7 separate regions of the Homo sapiens genome follow, and all the other regions are linked to region 4. The links are contacts of gene promoters, found by promoter capture Hi-C in blood cells and fetal thymus (Javierre and others, 2016). All regions are on one chromosome and are shown on one strand. Each heading gives the region's core, a stretch centred on a gene start or on the middle of the fragment in contact. The rest is flanking DNA. Distances are from core to core; before and after follow the strand shown. Region 1 has its middle 7.2 kb from the start of RC3H1-DT. Region 2 overlaps RC3H1 (ring finger and CCCH-type domains 1). Region 3 overlaps RABGAP1L (RAB GTPase activating protein 1 like). Region 4 holds the start of CACYBP (calcyclin binding protein). Region 5 overlaps RABGAP1L (RAB GTPase activating protein 1 like). Region 6 overlaps RABGAP1L (RAB GTPase activating protein 1 like). Region 7 overlaps RABGAP1L (RAB GTPase activating protein 1 like).

Region 1 (3,218 bases), core at 229-2,728, 970 kb before region 4:
GAGGGAATGACATCCTCAAACACACACACACAAAATAGCGGGTACTGGAGCTGAGCCACTTGGGTTTTCTGAACTGCTTTAGGTAAAGTAAGAGTGGGAAGTTAATTGTCTTCTCCATCCTTACTATCATCTCTTATTCTTATACAAAGATTCTCCATGACCTCCTACTTCCTCCCCAGTCCACAATATTGTACCCCTCCTATTAAAATTTCATTAAAAATAAAACTCTAAAAAATAAGAAGCAGAGGAAGATGTCCCATGCAATACACTATAGAAATATGAGGAAACCGATGGTGTCTGACCTACCCTACACCTTTGGAGTCAAGTCCAAAATCAGACCCAAATCATCATCTGCAAATTAAGCCTAACGGATTGCTGTAGATTCAGGGTGTTAATCACATGGCAAATATAGCCCAATTTAGTTCTGAGATTTCAAGAGCTAGGTTCCTGCAGACTTGAGATTCCAAAAGAGTTAAGTAAAATGATGTTTCTGAGTCTTACATGAAATTGCTTCTAAATTGGCCTGCCTTCCATAAAGGCCTCCAGCCCAACATTGAGCTGTCTGAACTTCAGCTGACCCTTAGAGACTTATCTGAAGCCAATGATAAACAGAATGCCTTTACAAAAGAGATATCAAACAACTTTCAGCAAAGTGGTCCACTCTAGGCAGTTAGGTTAAGAGAAAGTAGCTCCACTTTTCCAGTGGCAAAACTCACTGGAATATTGTTGTTTTCACTATTAGTTTGCTAGGGCTATCACACCAAATGCCACAGTCTGGGTGGCTTTTTGTTTTTTAAACGTAATCCCACATGGCAGCATGTTATTATTGGTGTAAAATGGATAAGTATAAGATTTTTGTTTTGTTTTTGAGATGGAATCTCGCTCTGTTGCCCAGGCTGGAGTGCAGCTGGAGCTCACTGCAACCTCTGCCTCCCTAGTTCAAGCAATTCTCCTACCTCAGCCCCCTGAGTAGCTGGGATTATAGGCATGAACCACCACGCCTGGCCGGGATAAGTATAAGATGTTTTATGTAAGCCTCAGGGTAACCATAAAGCAAAAGCCCATAATAGGTATGCAGGCCAGGCACAGTGACTCACGCCTGTAATCCCAGCACTTTGGGAGGCTGAGGCTGGCGGATCATGAGGTCAGGAGTTCAAGACCAGCCTGGACAACATAGTGAAACTCTGTCTCTACTAAAAATACAAAAATTAGCCAGGCATGGTGGCGCACGCCCGTAGTCCCAGCTACTCGGGAGGCTGAGGCTGGAGAATCGCTTGAATCTGGGAGGTGGAGGTTGCGGTGAGCCAAGATCATGCCACTGCACTCCAGGCTGAGCAACAGAATGAGACTTAGTCTAAAAATAAACCAAAATACATATATATATATATATATATACACATATATATATGCATGCAAAGGATAAGAAAAAATTTAAATCATACCATTATAGAAAATCATCAAACCACAAAGGAAGAAAACGAGAGGGGAAGAAAGGAACAAGGAACTTCAAATCAACCAGAATAACAAAACAATAATTTTAAAAAAACCCAGTTTATTGGAAATCATCATTCTCAGTAAACTATCGCAAGAACAAAAAACCAAACACCACATATTCTCACTCATAGGTGGGAACTGAACAATGAGAACACATAGACACAGGAAGGGGAACATCACACTCTGGGGACTGTTGTGGGGTGGGGGGAGGGGGGAGGGATAGCACTGGGAGATATACCTAATGCTAGATGACGAGTTAATGGGTGCAGCGCACCAGCATGGCACATGTATACATATGTAACTAACCTGCACATTGTGCACATGTACCCTAAAACTTAAAGTATAATAAGTAAAAAAAAAAAAACATAGAAAAAAGAAAAGAAAAAAAAACCCAGCAAACAATTTTTCAAATGGCACTTATAAGTCCTTACCTATACGTAATTACTTTGAATGTAAATGGATTAAATTATCTAATCAAAAGGCATAGAGTGGCTGAAAAGATTAAAAAAAAACAACAACAACAAGACCCTTAGAGGCCAGGTGTGTAATCCCAGCACTTTGGGAGGCCAAGGCATGCAGATCACCTGAGGTCAGGAGTTCGAGACCAGCCTGGTAAACTTGGCAAAACCTTGTCTGTACTAAAAATACAAAAATTAGCCGGGCATGGTGGCAGGCGCCTGTAATCCTAGCTACTTAGGAGGCTGAGACAGGAGAATTGCTTAAACCCAGGAGGCAGAGGTTACAGTGAGCCGAGATCACACCATTGCACTCCAGCCTGGGCAACAAGAGTGAAACTCCATCTCAAAAAAAAAAAAAAAAAAAAACTTAGCTAGGCATGGTGGTGGGCACCTGTAATCCCAGCTACTCAGAAGGCTGAGGCAGGAGAATGACTTGAACCCAGGAGGCGGAGGTTGTAGTGAGCCGAGATCGTGCATTGCACTTTAGCCTGGGTGACAAGAGTGAAACTTCATCTCAAAAAAAAAAAAGACCCTTGGAGCTGGCACAGTGGCTCACCCCTGTAATCCCAGTGACTCAGCAAGCTGAGGTGGGAGGATCACTTGAGCCCAGGAGTTGGAGGCTGCAGTGAGCTATGACTGTGCTGCCATACTCCAGCCTGGGCAACAGAATGAGACCCTATCTCTAAAAACAAACAAAAAACAAGACCAAAGTATATGCTGCCTACATAAGACTCACTTCACCTTAAAGCAGGGGTCCCTAACGTCTGGTCCATGGACCAGTACAGGTCTGTACCCTGTTAGGAACCTGGACACACAGCAGGAAATGAGCAGCTAGCAAGAGAGCATCACCGCCTCAGCTCTGCCTCCTGTCAGATCAGTGGCAGCATTAGATTCTCATAGGAGCATGAACCCTACTGTGAAATGCACATGCAAGAATCTAATGCCTGATGATCTGAGGTGGAACAGTTTCATCTTGAAGCCATCCCTCACGCCTGGCCTGTCCATGGAAAAATTGTCTTCAAAGAAACTGTTCCCTGGTGCCAAAAAGTTTGGGGATCATTGCCTTAAAGGACTCTTGTAGACTGAAAGTGAAGGGAAAGATGACTGTTTGTTTATATAACTAATTATTGGAACCTCGTGTGGGGCTCTGTCTATCTAAACATACAATTCTAGATATACTGAGTTCAATATACTTTGTAACCAAATGATGTCCTCTAGCACAAATGTATATTCAATATCTATTGGGCAATATTAGGTTTATCCGAT
Region 2 (3,158 bases), core at 206-2,705, 990 kb before region 4:
TTTTTATTATACTTTTTAATAATCATTAGTCAGCCATAATTAAAGATATAAATTAAATGATGCCTGTTTTGGGTTTAATCTGAGCATGACTGGTTTTAAGTAGGAACTCTGGAACTGTTTAAACCTACTTGTTTATTAAAAAGAAAAAATTAGGTTGTAGCAGCAACTACTGTATTCCTTTTGAACAGAACCAAAAGGATAACTCTGTCTTGAAGATTTTATTAAAATATTTCACTGAGAAATGAGAAGGGAACTAAAATAAAATGAATCATATATCTTAAGACGCCTTACTGATATTTTAAGATGAAGTATAACATACATACAGATCAAGAGTGTTCAGTTCAACGAATTATCACAAAGTGAGCATACCTGCATACTTAAGACATACATTATCAGCATCTCAAAAGGCCCCCCCTCACTATCCCTCCCAATGATTACTCCTTTATTCTTCCCCAAATATCACTACTATCCCAACTCCTAACACAATAGGTTAGTTTTGCCCGGTTTAAAATTCTATATAACAGGCCAGGCGCAGTGGCTCACGCCTGTAATCCCAGCACTTTGGGAGGCCAAGGCAGGCAGATCACGAGGTCAGGAAATTGAGACCATCCTGGCTAACACGGGGAAACACCATCTCTACTAAAAATACAAAAAAATTAGCCGGGCGTGGTGGCGGGCGCCTGTAGTCCCAGCTACTCGGGAGGCTGAGGCAGGAGAATGGCGTGAACCCGGGAGGCGGAGCTTGCAGTGAGCCGAGATCACTCCACTGCACTCCAGCCTGGGCGACAGAGCGAGACTCCATCTCAAAAAAAAAAAAAATCTATATAACGGAATCATCAGTATGTATTCTTTTGTACTTGGCTTCTTTCATGCAATGTTTTGTTGTTGTTGTTATTTGAGTCAGGGTCTTGCTTTATCACCGAGGCTGGAGTGCAGTGGCATGATCATGGCTCACTGCAGCCTCAAACCCCTGGGTTCAAACGACCCTCCCACCTCAGCCTCCTGAGGAGCTGGGACTATGAGCATGGGCCACCATGCCGGGCAACTTTTTACAATTTTTGTAGACATGGGCTATATTGCCCAGGCTGGTCTTAAACTCCTGACCTCAAGTGATCCTCCTACCTCAGCCTCCCAGATCAGTAGGATGTCAGGTGTGAGCCACCGCGTCCGGCCCACACAACATTATTTTTGTTAGATTTTTTTTCCCAGCATTTACTACATTTTAAACTGTTACAAAGCACTCCAGTTAAAATGATCACAGTTAGGAAGCTACCCTTTGTGAACTTATTTTTGGAGCAATGATGACTTGTAGATTTTGAATGCAGCAGATTTCTCATGTTGAACTGGAAGGAACAAAAATGAGTGTCAATAAAAAAAGTAGACAAAAATCTCCTCTTTACTCAAGAAAACAGTGTATGCATCACACAGCATATGTGTCACACACTAATAGTCTCCTATTACTTGCTTCTATTTCTTTTTCCCTATGATCCTGTGCTTTAGACTTCCTTGTGGCATTTGGTGGCTGCCATCATGTTCTGACTAATTCTAGAAACATGTAGATGTATTCACAACAGGTACATATCTAATTATATATTCTGACCTAGAAATTTTATTTGCATTAAAAACCTAGTATATTTAATAATAGCAATAACATCAATATTTTTAAAATGTATTTCCCCATAATCTCTTAGGTCTTAAGGACATTTCATTACTTTGTTTTGTTTTGAAATATGCCTCCTAGAATTCAAACTATTTCCAGAAAACAATGTCACAGAGACTTTTAATTGCAGATACTTGAAAAACAGTGCTTAGAAAAGAAGAAAGAAGGAAGCAGAAGCAGCAGCAGAGGAAGAAGCAGAAGAGGGGAAGGGAGGAGGAGGGAGAAGGAGGAAGAGGAGGAGCTGATTCATTTTCCATTTTAGAATTATTTCTCAACTACTATTGCAAGCAAAATTCCATTTTGAAGGGTTTAAAAGAACGAAAAAATTGCTACATGAACTCCAAACACAGAATCCTATAGCCACAATGTATCTTGTTTATACTGTATTATTATTTTATCTTTATATAAAGCGGTTTGAAACAGAAATTAAATTGTAAAAGGGGATGTTCTGGCCAGGTGTGGTGACTCACACCTGTAATCCCAGCACTCTGGGAGGCCAAGGCCAGCAGATCACCTGAGGTCAGGAGTTTGAGACCAGCCTGACCAACATGGCGAAACGCCATCTCTACTAAATACACAAAAATTAGCCAGGCGTGGTGGCGGGCACCGGTAATCCCAGCTACTTGGGAGGCTGAGGCAGGAGAATCACTCAAACCCAGGAGGCGGAGGTTGCAGTGAGCCAAGATCGTACCACTGCACTCCAGCCTAGGCAACAGAGTGAGACTTTGTCTGAAAAAAAAAAAAAAAAAAAAAAGAGATGTTTTGCTGATTCCCAAGTAGCTGCTAATGTTAGAGAACCTACTGACTGGCTGCTGCTGTATCAGAATCAAATATGACACTTCCTCCAAAATATGTAATGATGATCTTTCAGGGATTAAATTCACGCTTAGGTTTGTATAGTGTGCATGTTATAGGGAAGAGGAAATGAAAGGTTGAGATAAGTCTAACCACTGTGGATTGCACAATAAACAGATAAGTCTATTTATTGCTTGGTAAAAACAGGGACCCTGGTTAAGAACATAGTTTGTCCTACTCTTCCTCCAACCCTGAACCTTCTCCCCACTTCTGTATAGGCATTAATATATGAATTCCTTCAGAGAAGGCCTTCCCTGATCACCTTATTTCAAATAGATGCCCCAATCTCAATCCCTCCCCAGCCCTCTGCTATCCAACCACATGTTAAACTGCATGCTTCCCATCTCTTTCCTGATTAATTTTTCTCAATAATACTTCTCATCCAACATCTGTGTTTCATATTTATTTTGTTACAGTGTATACCCATCGATACTGAAATATTAGCTCCTTAAAAGTGGGCCAGGCATGGTGGCTCATGTCTGTAATCCCGGCATTTTGGGAGGCCAAGGTGGGCAGATCACTTGAGGTTAGGAGTTCAAGACCAGCCCGGCCAACATGGTGAACCCGTCACTACCAAAAACACAAAAAATTAGCTGGGTATGGTGGCACGCGTCTGTAGTCTCAGCTACTTGGAAGGCTGAGG
Region 3 (3,123 bases), core at 355-2,854, 780 kb before region 4:
TTTAAAATTTTACATGTATATGCACATGTAAAGTTCTTGGAAAACTTAGAAGGAAACTTGCTTAATCAAATATCTATCAAAGTCTTATGTTTTATGCTGAAATTTAAAATGCGTTACCATCAAGATATATTGAAACAGGAGCAGTTAGGGCATGATAGCTATCACCATAGCTCTTTGACGTTGTACTAAAGAATCCAGCCAATGCAAGATGACAGGAAAAAGAAATGAAGTGTGATTAGAAAAAAAGTGAAAAAATTCTCATGATTGGTAAAGTATTTAAGAAAGTGAATGGATAAGCTATTAGATTTAAAGACTTTTTGCCAGGCATGGTGGCTCATGCCTGTAATCCCAGCAATTTGGGAGGGTGAGGCGGGCAGATCACTTGAAGTCAGGAGTTTGAGACCAGCCTGGCCAACATGGCAAAACCCCGTCTCTATTAAAAATACAAAAATGGCTGGGCGGGGTGGCTCAAGCCTGTAATCCCACCACTTTGGGAGGCCAAGATGGGCAGGTCACGAGATCAGGAGTTCCAGACCAGCCTGGCTAATATAGTGAAACCCCGTCTCTACTAAAAATACAAAAATTAACTGGGTGTGGCAGCACATGCCTGTAGTCCCAGCTACTCAGGAGGCTGAGGCGAGAGAATCGCTTGAACCTGGGAGGCAGAGGTTGCAGTGAGCCAAGACTGCACCATTGCACTCCAGCCTGCGTGACAGTGAGACTCTGTCTAAAAAAAAAAAAAAAAAAAAAAAAAAAAATTAGCTGGGCAGGGTGGTGAACACTTGAAATTCCAGCTGCTCAGGAGGCTGAGACAGAAAAGTCACTTGAACCCAGGAGGTGGAGGTTGCAATGAACTGAGATCATGCCACTGCACTCCAACCTGGGCAACAGAGTGAGACTCCATCTCAAAAAAAAAAAAAAAAAAAAGATTTAACGACTTTTAGGAAGGTTAGCACCAACAGTAGAAAATAAAATTGCCATTCATAATACCAACAAAAATAATAGGTAACAAGGAAGAAACAAAAATTTATGTAAAATTTTAATAAAATTATAAAATGTTATTGAAGGAAATGAACACCTGAATGAATGGGGAGAGATGCCATGTTGATTGATAGGAGTCAACCTTGAAAAGATGTAACTTATCTCCAAATTAGTCTGTAACTTGGGTGGGAATTTCAAATTTTCAGTTATTTTTATAAACATTCTGAAATGTATCTGGACAAGTAGAGGTACACAGGTAGCTAAGAAAATTTTTAAAAAGAATATTATGTATTAAGATAGACTACAGAGTTACAGTGATTAAACCAATGTGATATTGGCTTGTTATAGAAGTGAATCACTAGAACAGGGTACCAGAAACAAACCTATGTATATAAAGGATTTCAGTATATGACAGAATTCGCTTCACATACCACTGGGGGAAATGGTAACTATGCAGTAAATAGTGTTGGGACAGTTGCATCTTTGAGTGCAATAAAATAAAATTAGGTTCCTTAGTTGTACATAAAAATTATTTTTAGTGAATCAGATATTTAAAGTGAGAAATAAGCCTGTAAGAAGAAAACAATGGAGCATATTTTTGTGATTGTCAAGGTAGGAAAAGCCAAATCACAAAAGGAAAAGATAGTTGCATATCATTATAGAAAAATTTAAGTCTGGCCTGGGCATGGTGGCTCACACCTGTAATCCCAGCACTTTGGGAGGCCAAGGTGGGTGGATTACTTGAGGTCAGGAGTTCAAGACCAGCCTGGCCAACATGGTGACACCCGGTGTCTACTAAAATACAAAAATTAGCCGGGCATGGTGGTTCATGCCTGTAATCCCAGCTGAGAATCTGGGCAGGAGAATGGCTTGAACCCAGGAGGCGGAGGTTGCAGTGAGCCAAGATTACACCACTGCACTCCAGCCTAGGCAGCAGAGTGAGACTCCATCTCAAAAAAAAATTTTAAATCTGAGTGCAAAAGACCATTTAGGTTATCTATTTCTTCTTGAGTGTACTTTGGTGTTTTCATCTTTCAAGTAATTGGTTAATTTCACCTAAGTATGGGGATAGAGTTGTTTCTCTGTTATAGAGTAATATTCTCTTATTATCCTTTTAATGTCTGCAGGATGTGTATTAATATCCTCTCATTCCTGATATTGACATGTATTACATATACATACATTGAAAAACCTACCAGTCTAATAATTTTGCTTTCAACAGCCATACGTATATTTCCTTGAGCACTTTAAAAATGCTTTTCCAGTGTCTTCTTGTCTCCATTGTTTCTGATAACAAATCTGAAGGGATTTGAATCATTGTTCTCCTATTTGTAATATGTTATTTTTCTTTGCTTTCAGTACTTTTATTTCATTGTTTTCAGCAGTTTGATTATCTGTGTGTGGTTTTCTTTGAGTTTATCTTTTTTTTTTGGATCACTGAGATTCTTGAATCTGTAAATTTATATCTTTAACCAAATTTGGGAGTTTTCACCCATTATTTCTTGGTAATTGTTTTGTTTCTACACTAATCTCTTTCTTTTCTGGGACTCAGTAGACAAAAATGGTAGACATTTCCATACCGTTCTCACAATTCCTTAGGCTCTTTTCATTGTTTTCCCTGTGTTCAAGCTCACTGACTTTTTACTTTGTTAATCTCCATTCTGCTATTGAGATCGTCTGATGAATTTTTAATTTTAGATATTGTATTTTTCTGTTTTTAAATTTACATTGTTTTTTAAAGTTTTTTTGTTTCTCTGTGGATAGTTTTGATATTTTTATTCATTACAGGTGTTTTCACGTTTATTTTATGGATTATTTATGGAGCAACTGGGACATCTTGGGATTGGTCTGTGGATTATTTTTTCACTTGAGAATAGATCACCCTTTTATGTTTGTTGAGTAATTGGCTTGTTCCCAGAGTTTTCGAATCTTATGTTTTGAGACTATTTCTTGTTAAAATCCTCTGAAGAATGTTGACTTTTTTTTTTTTTTTTTTTTTAAAGCAGACATTCCACCTGGTTGTGTCCAAACTGCAAGATCTGTCTTGCTTTCTGGTTCCAAAGTATTTTCAATTCTCAAAACCTTTGCTGTGCTTCTTCAGTCTGTTCCACATGCATACACAGTTTGCTAGTTTACACGCAG
Region 4 (2,890 bases), core at 9-2,508:
TCCCCACTATGCTCATTAACACCATGGGCTAGTTTTTAAATGGAACCACGCAATATGAACTCTTCCATGTCTGGCTTCTTTCCCTCAACTTCATTTTTTTGTGTGAAATTCACGCATGTTGCGTTTCGGTAATTTATTTTTGTACTGTACTTCCGATTCTTTACTACAGATAATGGTCAGCCTCCATTCCGCTAACAGCTTTTTTTCCTCTCCGAGTTGCTGATTCTAATTGCTGCCTTGGACGATCTATAAAGCTGAGTGCGCGCTATGTGACCTCTCAGGGGTCGCTGCCTTGGACGATCTGTAAAGCTGAGTGCGCGCTATGTGACCTCTCAGGGGTTGTTTCCAACCGTGTTGTTGACATCTTGAGCCTGCCAAGGACTAGAATAATCTGAAAACTAGGCTTCTCTGGGGGTCTCACTGAGTGACAGGGTTAGAACCAGAAGAGAACATCGTCTCCAGAAGACATTTCACCATTTTCTTTGATGGTAAACAGGCTCACTTATACCGAATCCAAACCCAGGCGAGAACTACGGACTCTTGAAATGGTCGGTGAAAGGGGCGAAAGCACCAGGAAATCGTGCTTCAACAGTCCATGACTGAAAGGAGGGCCTGAAACTGTGGCCATAGGCGGGCCCTTTTGTTAGGGCCTTGACCTGGGCTTCCGCTACAGGGCCCGGTCACGAGGCCAACGTAGCTCCACCTCCTACGGCGGCCAGTGATGACGCCACCACGTCGGAACTGTTAGACCGCGGTGACGTCTCCACCGCGCCAAACTCACTGAAAATCAAACCGCTACCATTAGGAGCCCTCCACGCTTAACATATCCGTTCTTTCTCGTTTGAAAGTAACCAGGCTGCTCCTCCCCATTTTTCGCCTTCTTCTCGCGGAGGCTGAGAGACTAACCTTACACAACATGGCGGCCTGGTGTGTCTGGTGTCCTAGAGCGGACGAAAGCAGGTGACTCTCTAGTCAACTTCCGACTTGGACTCCGAAGATCGGTACGTTATTTCCGGGGCTGGGTTAACGCAGCGGTTCCGAGCTGCGACTGCGCAGCGTGGCCCAGCGCGGTCAAATTATAATACATAAAAGTTGTCAGGGCGGAGAGCAAGACATTACTCTTCTCGGATTGCCGGTTCGCTCGCGAGACTTGAGCGTTGCTAGGAGATTCGGCAGGCGGGCGGAGCCAGACTCGGCGGGGCGGGGAGGGGTGGGGCTAGGCTCGGCGAGGCGAGGAAGGGTGGGTGGAGCCAGGCTTGGCGGGCTGTGCGTGCTCGCGGTGGGCGGTGGCGGCGGCTGCCTCGCGAAGGTTCGAGATCCGTCGCGTGCGGGAGGCGGGCCGCGATCTTGCGCAGGGTCGGTGTGGGCGCAGGCTGCAGCGCCGCGACTCGTGCGGGTAGGCGTCTGCGCTCGGTTTGAGGGCTCGGCGCGGGGTTTCCTGTTCCTCCTTCTGCGCGGCTGCAGCTCGGGACTTCGGCCTGACCCAGCCCCCATGGCTTCAGAAGAGGTAAGTGGTCCGGCCCCATATTCCTTATGCCCCCCGGCTGGAGCTGCAGCGCCAGCCTCCCGCCCTACCGCCGTTTCCGTGGGCTGAGCCGCCCTGCGGCCACCCGGTCCCGCGCCAGTCAGTGCGCCGCCTTCCCGGGGGACACCTCACTCGCCCCTTGCTGCGCCGTCGGCTCCCCAGCGCTTCCACTCGACCTCGCACCCCACTCGCCTGCTGGGCTCGAGCGGGGGTGTGCGGCGATTATCCGTGCAGGCGGTGCGGGGAGTGGGTCTGGGAGAGCGGCCCTTTGCGCGTGTTCCTCAGGCCCTTTCTGCCCTGGTTTCCCAGCCAGTGGACAGGAAGCTTCATTCAAGCAAAGCTGGGTGCAAACATGAGTGTCGTTCTTGGTAGAGGGCGGTTGGAAGGTGAGTTCTCAGTGCTAGCACTTGAATTCTCCTAGTCAGGTTTTCTCTACACACGAGGAGCTGTGTTACTCTGGGCAAGTTGTTTAGCTTCTCTGTGTCGCAGTAGCATCCATTTCATAGGGTTGTTAAAAAATATGATTTCTAGGTGTTTAAGTCAGTGATTGGCAAACAGCAATCTGCTGTATGTGATTTTTAAAATAAATAACTTGGAAAGTTAGTTGTAATTAATAGTAAGAAAGCGAATGGCCTGTGTTAAAGCTCTGTAAACTCTGAACGTTGGAGAATTAAATTTTGTGGAGACTTAGTTTGCTCAGTTAGAAAATGGGAATGATAGTACTTGTATTGCTCATTTCCTGGCGTAAGTGGGAGGTGAAGACGGGACAGTTATTCACAGTTAAGTGTTGGGTGTGTATTAACTAGATTTGCTTTATGAAAACAAGTACTGGGGAGTCCCAAGCTTTTGTTTTGTTTTGTTTTTGTTTTTTAAACTCAAAATCTTTTCTTTAAATGAAGAAAAACTATGAGGTTTGTGTGTTCCAGTATTAATCTGGGTATCTTGTGACAAGTCTTTTAAGGTAGGTCTTGGGTACTATGTGCCCCTAGGAGATAACTTCACAGTCTTGCAGGTGGATAGCTCAGTGTTAGTCCTCTTGAAAGTAGAGATCGTTCTCAGTTTAGGCACTTAGAAATATACATTTGAGGGCACTTGATTTTTGTTTTGTTTGAGATAAAATTCAAGTTTTTAACCATTTTAAAGTGTACAATTCAGGTATTTGTTTTTTGTTTAAATATATTCACAGTGTAGTGCAGCCATCACCACTGTCTAGTTTCAGGACATTTTCATCACTCCAGAAAGAAACCATGTAGTGTGTTTTAAACAATTGCTTCCCATTCCTCCCTCAGCCCCTGACAACTACTCATCTTGTACTTTCTGTGAATTTGCCTATTGTAGGCATTTCATATAAATGGAGTCACGCTG
Region 5 (3,013 bases), core at 90-2,589, 840 kb before region 4:
AGTAGCAAAAATTTCCTATATTGAAGGTGTAGAAGTGGGCCTGCATTCCAACCTACCATTGTCTTCAAGTGGGGTATGGATCATTATGACTGGTTAGAGGGGGTTTGGAGAATGAAGTTGTTGCTGTAAGCCTATGGGATTCCCAGGCACAGAGCTTGCTTATGTCTTAATTTTAATGAGTTCTATATTTTTATAACTCTTGACTTATATAAATGGGTCAGCCGTTGAGTCTGAGGATGACCAGCAGCCCAAGGCTATTCCAGGTGCTGGTATTTCTTTTTTTTTTTTTTTCTCTTTCTGTTTTTTTTTTTTTTTTTTTTTTTTTTAATTATACTTTAAGTTTTAGGGTACATGTGCACATTGTGCAGGTTAGTTACATATGTATACATGTGCCATGCTGGGAATTGAACAATGAGATCACATGGACACAGGAAGGGGAATATCACACTCTGGGGACTGTGGTGGGGAGGGGGGAGGGGGGAGGGATAGCATTGGGAGATATACCTAATGCTAGATGATGAGTTAGTGGGTGCAGCGCACCAGGTGCTGGTATTTCAAAGATGGCTCAGGGGTTTCTTGTGGAGATGATCTGATGAGCATTTTGCCATTACAAACAGTGGAGGCGGAGAAAGTACGGACTTGAGCCTGAGTTATGGTAAAACATACTCATTTTTAAAGGAGAGTTTTAATGCTGATATTATAGAGAAAGACATTGTTTGACTCCTAGACTTTCAGAACGGGAAATAATTTTGACTTTATAGTCAGTATTTGAATTGGGTATAAGTATGTGAACATCAGTGGACCCTAATAAGGAAGAGTTAATGAATTAAGAAGAGCTTGCATCTCTGAACATCTTCTTTTTATACTTCGTTTACTTCCCATATTGCTCTTATTCAACAGATGGGATGGCATAATTGGGTATACGAAGTTTATGCGCATGCTAACTCTTTTTTGTTATCTTTTGGTGTTTTTTGGTGTACTTTTTGGGGATTTTCCTGGGAAAGTTCTAGGCATATATTCAGTTGATTTAGAGTTAGATTTGGGCTAAGATTATTAGTATACTTGAAATTCTGAGCCTTCTTATTTTCTAAATAGCTTTTAAAGTAGAAAACATTTGCCAGTGCTGTTGGGCTTAAAAAAAAAAAAAACCCAACAACAACACAATTCTTTATAAATACTCATGAAAAATCTGGTTACAGGCTGTGTTGTGATAGACATAGTACAGCCAAAAATATATTTAAGAAAATTCTCACCCAGTTTAGTAAGCTTAAATAAGAGGAAAATAAGACAGTTTTTTTTTTTAATAAAAGGCTGATTTTCCCAGAATATGAAGCCTAACAACTGTTTGCTGTGTTATTTTCCCTGTTGCCTGTTCTAAATTCAGCAAGAACTATGCATCCCTAGTCCATGGTAAAAGCTTAGTTCCAGTAGGTGATTCTTAGTAATGGAAGTCTCATTGAGGGATGCAAGGGAATTTGATTGGGAAACATCAGGCATGGAACATTTACTTTTTACTGCTCTAATTTTCTGTGTATCTGGGTATTCAGTGGGGTGGGAACATGAGCACAAATACTAGAATTATCTGGATTTTTTTTTTATACTATGGATTTCCTCCTCTTACCCCCTACCTGCCCCCCAACCCATTGCTAAGTGAGCCATTGATAGTAGGAGTGTGTTATATCCTTCAGGTATGTAGGGCTGAACAAATGCTAAAAACCTTGGCACTTGGCTGATATTCCATAAACCAAATTCCTGCTCTGTGTAATTTGCCTTCTGGTGATATCAGTTTGTTACTCCCATTTTTGAAGAAAAATATGAATTGTGGTGAAGAGACATCTGTAACCAAGAGTAAGATTTATCAAATTATGTAGTATACATGAAGGACACCAGGAGATTGTTTACCTGAACATTTATTAAACTCATTTGACTGTGACCCACAATAAAAAATACATTTTACTACTTGATTCCGCAAGCGCACACACACACAAAGTTGAAAGTTTGGTGAAATAATATTTATCTTTTCAGGGCCCTACTGAGTTAGCTATAATGGCTTGCAAGACCAGTTGTGCATATTTCTTCCTATCTAGCTCTTTGTCCAGTGACATCATGTTGGTAGCTCAAAATTGGTCATGGTGGGAATATTTACACCAGGAAATTCAGCAAATGGTATTCTTAGGGCTTCCCTCCTCATAGGTAGTTGTTAAACATTTATAGCACCCCACTGCTTATAACACACATTGATATATTCTGTTATTTCATTTCATTTTAAAAATGCTGGGTTTTGACTTCCAAATTAATTTTACACCCAGCTAATGGATTATAGCCTACATTTAACAACAAATACAACTAGTTTAGCCTACCCTCTTAACTTTGTAAGTGAAGGAACATACTAAGAGCCTCAAGGCCAAGGTCAGATAGTGAGTTATTAGCAAAGCCAGGGCTCTGGACTCAATCTGGAGTTGTTTCTGGTGGGCTTCTTTCCTAACCTCACTTAGTGTGTATAAGGGATTGTGTTAATCAGTTTGAATAAAGATGGACCTTGACCCTGAGGACTTTATGCTTAGGTGGGGGATTAAATATGGAAACAACAGTGATAATGAAAGGCAGAAAGTAATGGGTGGTAAAAAGATAAAGATAAGGAACTATAAGAGTTTAGAGAGGAGGGAGAGATTACTTTTATTTTTGTTTGTTTGTTTGTTTTTCGTTTTTGACCCAGGCTGGAGTACAGTGGTACAATCTCGGCTCACTGCAACCTCTGCCTCCCAGGTTCAAGTGATTCTCCTGCGTCAGCCTCCCTGAGTAGCTGGGATTACAGGCGCCAACTGCCACACCAGGCTAATTTTTGTATTTTTAGTACAGACGGGGTTTCGCCATGTTGGCCCGGCTGGTTTTGAACTTCTGACCTCAGGTGATCCATCCGCCTCAGCCTCCCAAAGTGCTGGGATTACAGGCGTGAGCCACCGTGCCCGGTCTACTTTTAGTTTTAAGGATAAAAGAAGAGGTGACATTTGAA
Region 6 (3,096 bases), core at 341-2,840, 740 kb before region 4:
TCTTGACTTGGCTTCCTAAAGTGCTTGGCTTCCCAAAGTGCTGGGATTATAGGCGTGAGCCACTGTGCCTGACCCAAATCTTTAATAACTGCTGCTGACAAAGTTAATTTGTAATATAAAAGCATTGGTGTGAAAGAAAATCCTTCAAATTACATAATTTTTATCTTCTGAACGAGAAAATAAAATTTATCATTAAAAAATTTTTAAAATCATTATTTAAATTATGTAAAATTATCAACATTCTGGGTTTTTTTTTGTTTGTTTTTGGTGACAGGACCTCGCTGTGTTGCCCAGACTGGAGTGCAGTGATGTGATCATAGCTCACTGCAGCCTTGAACTCCTGGGGTCAGGCTATCCTCCTGCCTCAGCCTCCCAAGTAGCTGGGACTACAGGTGTCCACCACTACTCTGGGCTAATTTTATGTTGTCTTATTTATCTTTCATAGAGACGGGGTCTCGCTTAGTTGTCTGGGCTGGTCCCAAACTCCTGGCTTCAAGTGATCTTCTTGCCTCAGCCTCCCAAAGTGCTGGGATTACAAGTGTGAGCCACCATGCCTGGCCAATATTCTGTTTTTTTTTTTGAAAAATATATTATGAAAGAAGCCATTTCTGTGTGCATCCAAGGGTTTAAGGGTTGTTTATATCTAGATATTTTGCAAATTATACTGCAGTTGTCTGTCTTGACCCTTTTGATAACAAGCACTATGTTGTTTATCCCAGAATCCCCAGCATCTACTATAGTGCTTGGAATACAGAGCTTTATACTTAGCTACTTACTCCTTACTTAGCACTTTCTCAGTGCCAGGCACTGTTCTAGGTGGTATTTCTGAGGTATAGGTACTATTATCTTCATTTTTCAGTTGAGGAAACTGAGGTACAAAAGTTACATAACTTGACCAAGGCTATAAAATTACTTTTTAACTAAGTACATCTAGTACTAGAACACATATTCTTACTCTCTACTGCTTCTTTTTAAATACTTGACTAAATCAATAAAAAGTATATAAAAGTTTATAAAGTTAGAGCATTGGCTAAATTTGTTGTAATATGGAATTAATAACTGCACATTGCACCAATAAAATCCTATGTATTTTAAAGAATGTATGAAAACTGTTCTCAAGTCATGAAAACTTTTAATATTCTTTTCCTTTTCTTGATTACCCATGTTGGATATCACATATTAAGCTTTATTTAATAACTGGATATAAAAGAGCAATAATAATGGCCAACATTTAATGAACACTTACTATTTGGTGGCCATTGAACAACTTTTCTTAACATATGAGGAAGGTACTGTTATTATTACTGCATTTTTTTTTTTTTTTGAGACAGAGTCTCACTCTGTCACCCAGGCTGGAGTGCAGTGGTGTGATCTTGGCTCACTGCAACCTCTGCCTCCCGGGTTCAAGCAATTCTTCTGCCTCAGCCTCCTGAGTAGCTGGGACTATAGGCATGCGCCACTACACCCGGCTAATTTTTGTATGTTTAGTAAAGATGGGGTTTCACCATATTGGTCAGGCTGGTCTTGAACTCCTGACCTCGTGATCTGCCCGCCTCAGCCTCCCAAAGTGCTGGGATTACAGGTGTAAGCCACCACGCCTGGCCTATTACTCCATTTTATAGATGATGAAACAGAGGTTTAATCAGGTTAAGTAACTTTGGTTACTTGGCCAGAAACTGGTAGAGCCAGGATTTAAACCAGGGTCATCTGATTTCTGACTGTGTACTCTTAAAGGCTAAACCCAATTAATTCTTGATTATATACTAGGTTTAAAATTAAGCCAGTTTGAAGATAAATGAATTGGTATTCTTTGGTATCTTTTCAGCAGAATTTAAAAGTGCGAACTTAGATGTTAGGGCATTCAAGTGATTGCTCAGAAATTTCAAACCCTCAGTGCCTTGGGAGAAAAGCCAATTTGTAGAAGAGAAAGCTGACATTAACAACTAAGAGGAGAAAGCAAGATCATTGTATATGAAATGTGTGAGGAGTGGTAGGGCAAAGCTTACTTATTGAGGGTCTCCAGCTGAGATGTTAAAGTGTGTGTACATGAGGTCAGGCTCTTCTGGTGTTCCCAAAGCAGAAATGGTGATCATTTCTCTCTCTGACTAGCTGCCATTATTATGGGTTTTGGTATCACCACATACAGAAATATTGCAAAAGATTTCTTGCATACTAACACATTGATATGTATTTTTAAAGCCTTGATAGTGTTTAAAATACACTATTACTAGCACTGTTACCTAAATGCACTATTACTAGCACTATTACTTAGCACCTACTTGGATGCTTTGAATAGTTTGCTATGCTCAATATTCCAAAGGTGAGAGAAGGGGAAATTTTTTCAGTCTTTGCCATTAGTGCTCTGTCTAGTTGATTTTTTTTTTTGCCAAGTATTACTTCTTATTTCATGATAAAATGATTCAAGACAAATAATACCATATACATTTAGAAAATGGGCCTCTTTATTATTCCTTAACATGAAGAGGTTCCAATAATGGTAGTTTCAGGCCTTGGGGAAGGGTAATCAGGAAGCGATTTTTGGCACCAGGTTTTATGTCTGTCCTATCACTCTTCTCAGGGGTCTGCCCTCATATTAATACTTGTGCTAACCAGAATGAAGTAGTGATACAGCAAGCAGAATATAATGATTAGAGTTGTTATAAGCACACAACTCAATTTGCAGTGAGTAACATGGGCCAACACTGTTGGAAAATAAGGATTTCCATGAGCCACTTCTATCTCACATTGATTTGGGGGGATACAATCATTATATATACATTAGAAAAACATCACTTCTAAATGACAGTGATCATATCAGATCATGTAGTTTGATCATTTGGAGAGTTCAGTGATGTGCCTCTTTTGGTAGCAATTTTGCTTCAGTTTTCAATTTGTGCTTGCCGGCTTGCAGCACAAACTATATAATGAGAAACTGAAGTGATAAGAACCATACTGTGTAGCATGGGTGATTGATAGTACCTTTCCTTGTGTTATTTTCTTGAGGAAAAGATATCCTAGACAAGGAGTACTGAAAAAATCACCCAGGGACTCTCTTCTTCTCATGAAACAGTTTTTTAGTGTGAGTTGACATCACTA
Region 7 (2,862 bases), core at 272-2,771, 720 kb before region 4:
GAAGCCGCAGACCTTTGCAGTGAGTGTTACAGCTCTTAAAGGTGGCGTGTCTGGAGTTGTTTGATCCTCCCGGTGGGTTCGTGATCTTGCTGGCTTCAGGAGTGAAGCTGCAGACCTTCGCGGTGAGTGTTACAGCTCATAAAGGTAGTGCGGACCCAAAGAGTGAGCAACAGCAAGATTTACTGTGAAGAGCAAAAGAACAAAGCTTCCACAGAGTGGAAGAGGACCCGAGCGGGTTGCTGCTGCTGGCTTAGGTGGCCAGCTTTTATTCCCTTATTTGGCCCAGCCTGCGCCCTGCTGATTGGTCCATTTTACAGAGCACTGATTGGTCCATTTTACAGAGCGCTGATTGGTCCATTTTACAGAGTGCTGATTGGCCTGTTTTTACAGAGTGCTGTTTGGTGTGTTTACAAACCATTAGCTAGACACAGAGCACTGACTGGTGCGTTTTTACAGAGTGCTGATTGGTGTGTTTACAAACCTTTAGCTAGACAGAGTGCTGATTGGTGCGTTTACGCTCCTTTAGCTGGACAGAAAAGTTCTCCAAGTCCCACCCGACCCAGAAGCCCAGCCGGATTCGCCTCTCACCTTGACCTGAGTCTAAGGGGAGTAGACATTAATTAGGTGTAAGTGGGAAACACCAAGTATAAATGCCCAGAGAACTAGAAAGACTGGGAAGCACAGTAGCTGATGATGAAAGGCAAGTAGGCCCCTGGCCATGTGAAACTTTGGAGTCCACGTTCAGAGTTCTTTTCTAAATCAACTTTATTGAGGTAGTTAGCATACAGTAATATGCACCCATTTAATAGTACATTTTGATGAGTTTTGACAAATTTATACACATGAATAATTACCACCAAAATTAAGATCCCTCACTCTTAAAAGTTCTATAGTGTCCATGCCAGCTAATCTTTCTCACCTTCAGCCTCAGGCAATGACTGATGTGCTGTCATTACAGTAACTGGAATCATATGCTTCTTTTATGTAAAAGCTTTCTTCATGTAACAATGCCTTTGAGATCCATCCATGTTGTATGTCAGTTGTTAATCTTTTTATTGTTGAATGTTATTCCTTTGTATAGCTGTACCATAATTTATTAGATCATATGTTGGCAATTTGAGTTGTTTCCATTTTTGGTTCATGTGGTTAATTAAAGCTGCTGTATCTTTCTGTGGACATAGATTTTCATTTCTTTTGGGTTGATACCAAGAAATGGAATTGCTGTGTGGTATGGTAAGTAGAAACTGCCAAACTGTTTTCTACAGTGCTTGACCACTTTATTTTCCCTCCAGCAGTATATGTGTGTCCCAATTTCTCCTCATCCTTGCCAGCACTTAGTATCGTCAGTCTTTTAAATTGTAGCTATTCTTAGGGGTGTGTAGATGTATCTCATTGCAATGTCAATTTACATTTCACATTGAGTAATGATTTTGAGCATTTTTTTCTTATGGTTATTAATCATTCATATATCTTCTTTATAAAATGTCTAAAATTTTTGTCCACTTTTTGTTTGTCTTACTGAGTTGCAAGAGTTGTTTATATTTTCTGAATATATTTTCTTTTGTCAGATACACATATTTCAAATAGTTTCTTCCTGACAGTGGCTTGCCTTTTTATTTTCATAATGTCTCTTGAAGAACTGAAGTTTTACATTTCGATGAAGTCATATTAATATTTTATTTTATTGTTTTTGCTTTTTTTGTGTCCTATCTAAGGAAATTTTGCCTACCTCAAGGTTGTGAAGATGTTCTTTATGTTTTCCTGTAAAGACTTTATAGTTTCAGGCCTATTACCTATTTTCTGTTAATTTGTATGTATGGCATGAAGGCTTGAGGTCATCTTCCCACACCTCTCTCATGTGGGTATACAGTTGTTCCAGCATCATTTGTTGAAAAGACTCTTTTATCTATAGAATTAGTTTGTCTAAAATTAATTGACTGTAGATGTATAAGTCTGTTTCTGGGACACTATTTCTCTTCCATTGAACTCTATGTGAGTACCACACAGTCTTGCTCATTATAACTTTATATTATGTATTAAAGTCTGTGTTGTAAGCTTCCCAACCTTTCTCATTCTTAGTTTTATTTGTTGCGAGTTCTTTGCATTTCCATCTGAATTTTAGGATTAGTTTGTCAGTTTGTAGAAAAATGCATGCCCAGGCTGGACGCAGTGGCTCACACTGGTAGTCCCAGTACTTTGGGAGGTTGAGGCAGGAGGATCACTTGAGGCCAGGAGTTTGAGACCAGCCTAGGCAACATAGCAAGACTCAGTTTGTAAAAAAAAGTAAAATAAAATTACCCAAGCGTGGTGGTGTGCACCTGTGGTCCCAGCTTCTCAGGAGGCTGAGGTGGGAGGATTGCTTGAGCCCAGGAGGTTGAGGCTTCAGTGAGCCGTGATCATGCCACTTGCACTCCAGCCTGGGCCACAGAGTGACACCCCATCTCTAAAAAATAATAATAAAAAAAAGAAAAATGCATTCCCAGATTTTGACTGAGAATGCCTGAATATGTAAATGATTTTGGGAAGAGTTGCTGTTTTTTTTGTTTGTTTGTTTGTTTTTTTGAGACGGAGTCTCAACTTGTTGCCCAGGCTGGAGTGCAGTGGCACCATCCCAGCTCACTGCAACCTCTGCCTCCCAGGTTCCAGTGATTCTCCTGCCTCAGCCTCCCGAGTAGCTGGGACTACAGGTACCCACCACCACGCCTGTCTAATTTTTGTATTTTTAGTAGAGACGAGGTTTTGGCATGTTGGCCAAGCTGGTCTTGAATTCCTGACCTCAAGTGATCCACCCTCCTCGGCCTCCCAAAGTGTTGGGATTATAGGCGTGAGCCACTGCACCTGTCCTTTAGGAGTTGCTGTCTT

The links. Contacts are between HindIII fragments. The CHiCAGO score rates a contact against its expected background, and 5 or more counts as called.
Region 1: a fragment that was not itself captured here is called in contact with the fragment with the promoter of CACYBP in region 4 in 1 of 17 cell types (neutrophils); the score reaches 6.5 in neutrophils.
Region 2: a fragment that was not itself captured here is called in contact with the fragment with the promoter of CACYBP in region 4 in 1 of 17 cell types (monocytes); the score reaches 5.6 in monocytes.
Region 3: a fragment that was not itself captured here is called in contact with the fragment with the promoter of CACYBP in region 4 in 2 of 17 cell types (M2 macrophages and naive B cells); the score reaches 6.2 in M2 macrophages.
Region 5: a contact is called between a fragment that was not itself captured here and the fragment with the promoter of CACYBP in region 4, in 3 of 17 cell types (fetal thymus, total CD8 T cells and monocytes). The highest score is 9.4, in fetal thymus.
Region 6: a fragment that was not itself captured here is called in contact with the fragment with the promoter of CACYBP in region 4 in 15 of 17 cell types (naive B cells, total B cells, total CD8 T cells and 12 more); the score reaches 14.8 in naive B cells.
Region 7: a fragment that was not itself captured here is called in contact with the fragment with the promoter of CACYBP in region 4 in 1 of 17 cell types (M1 macrophages); the score reaches 5.4 in M1 macrophages.

What each region holds. Positions count from the first base shown.
Region 1 is chr1:174,028,100-174,031,317 of GRCh38, forward strand. No RefSeq gene overlaps it. Among named protein-coding and RNA genes, the nearest start is that of RC3H1-DT, 7.2 kb to the left of the region's middle. The HindIII fragment of the contact is 8,475 bases long and covers 1-3,218 here.
Region 2 is chr1:174,006,585-174,009,742 of GRCh38, forward strand. All of the region lies in intron 1 of RC3H1 (ring finger and CCCH-type domains 1), which reads right to left. Among named protein-coding and RNA genes, the nearest start is that of RC3H1, 14 kb to the right of the region's middle. The HindIII fragment of the contact is 5,748 bases long and covers 1-3,158 here.
Region 3 is chr1:174,222,536-174,225,658 of GRCh38, forward strand. The region is part of intron 3 of RABGAP1L (RAB GTPase activating protein 1 like); the gene reads left to right. Among named protein-coding and RNA genes, the nearest start is that of RABGAP1L, 65 kb to the left of the region's middle. The HindIII fragment of the contact is 5,756 bases long and covers 1-3,123 here.
Region 4 is chr1:174,998,689-175,001,578 of GRCh38, forward strand. It overlaps CACYBP (calcyclin binding protein), which reads left to right and starts at 1,259. Exons shown (of 6, transcript NM_014412.3): 1 at 1,259-1,507. The coding sequence starts at 1,493. LOC105371622 (a long non-coding RNA gene) reads right to left here and starts at 958. Exons shown (of 2, transcript NR_188647.1): 1 at 907-958. RefSeq lists enhancers at 380-589, 532-1,068, 620-1,129 and a silencer at 1,160-1,279. The HindIII fragment of the contact is 3,791 bases long and covers 1-1,847 here.
Region 5 is chr1:174,162,478-174,165,490 of GRCh38, forward strand. All of the region lies in intron 1 of RABGAP1L (RAB GTPase activating protein 1 like), which reads left to right. Among named protein-coding and RNA genes, the nearest start is that of RABGAP1L, 4.5 kb to the left of the region's middle. The HindIII fragment of the contact is 151 bases long and covers 1,265-1,415 here.
Region 6 is chr1:174,258,529-174,261,624 of GRCh38, forward strand. The region is part of intron 7 of RABGAP1L (RAB GTPase activating protein 1 like); the gene reads left to right. Among named protein-coding and RNA genes, the nearest start is that of RABGAP1L, 100 kb to the left of the region's middle. The HindIII fragment of the contact is 817 bases long and covers 1,183-1,999 here.
Region 7 is chr1:174,280,963-174,283,824 of GRCh38, forward strand. All of the region lies in intron 10 of RABGAP1L (RAB GTPase activating protein 1 like), which reads left to right. Among named protein-coding and RNA genes, the nearest start is that of RABGAP1L, 120 kb to the left of the region's middle. The HindIII fragment of the contact is 1,064 bases long and covers 990-2,053 here.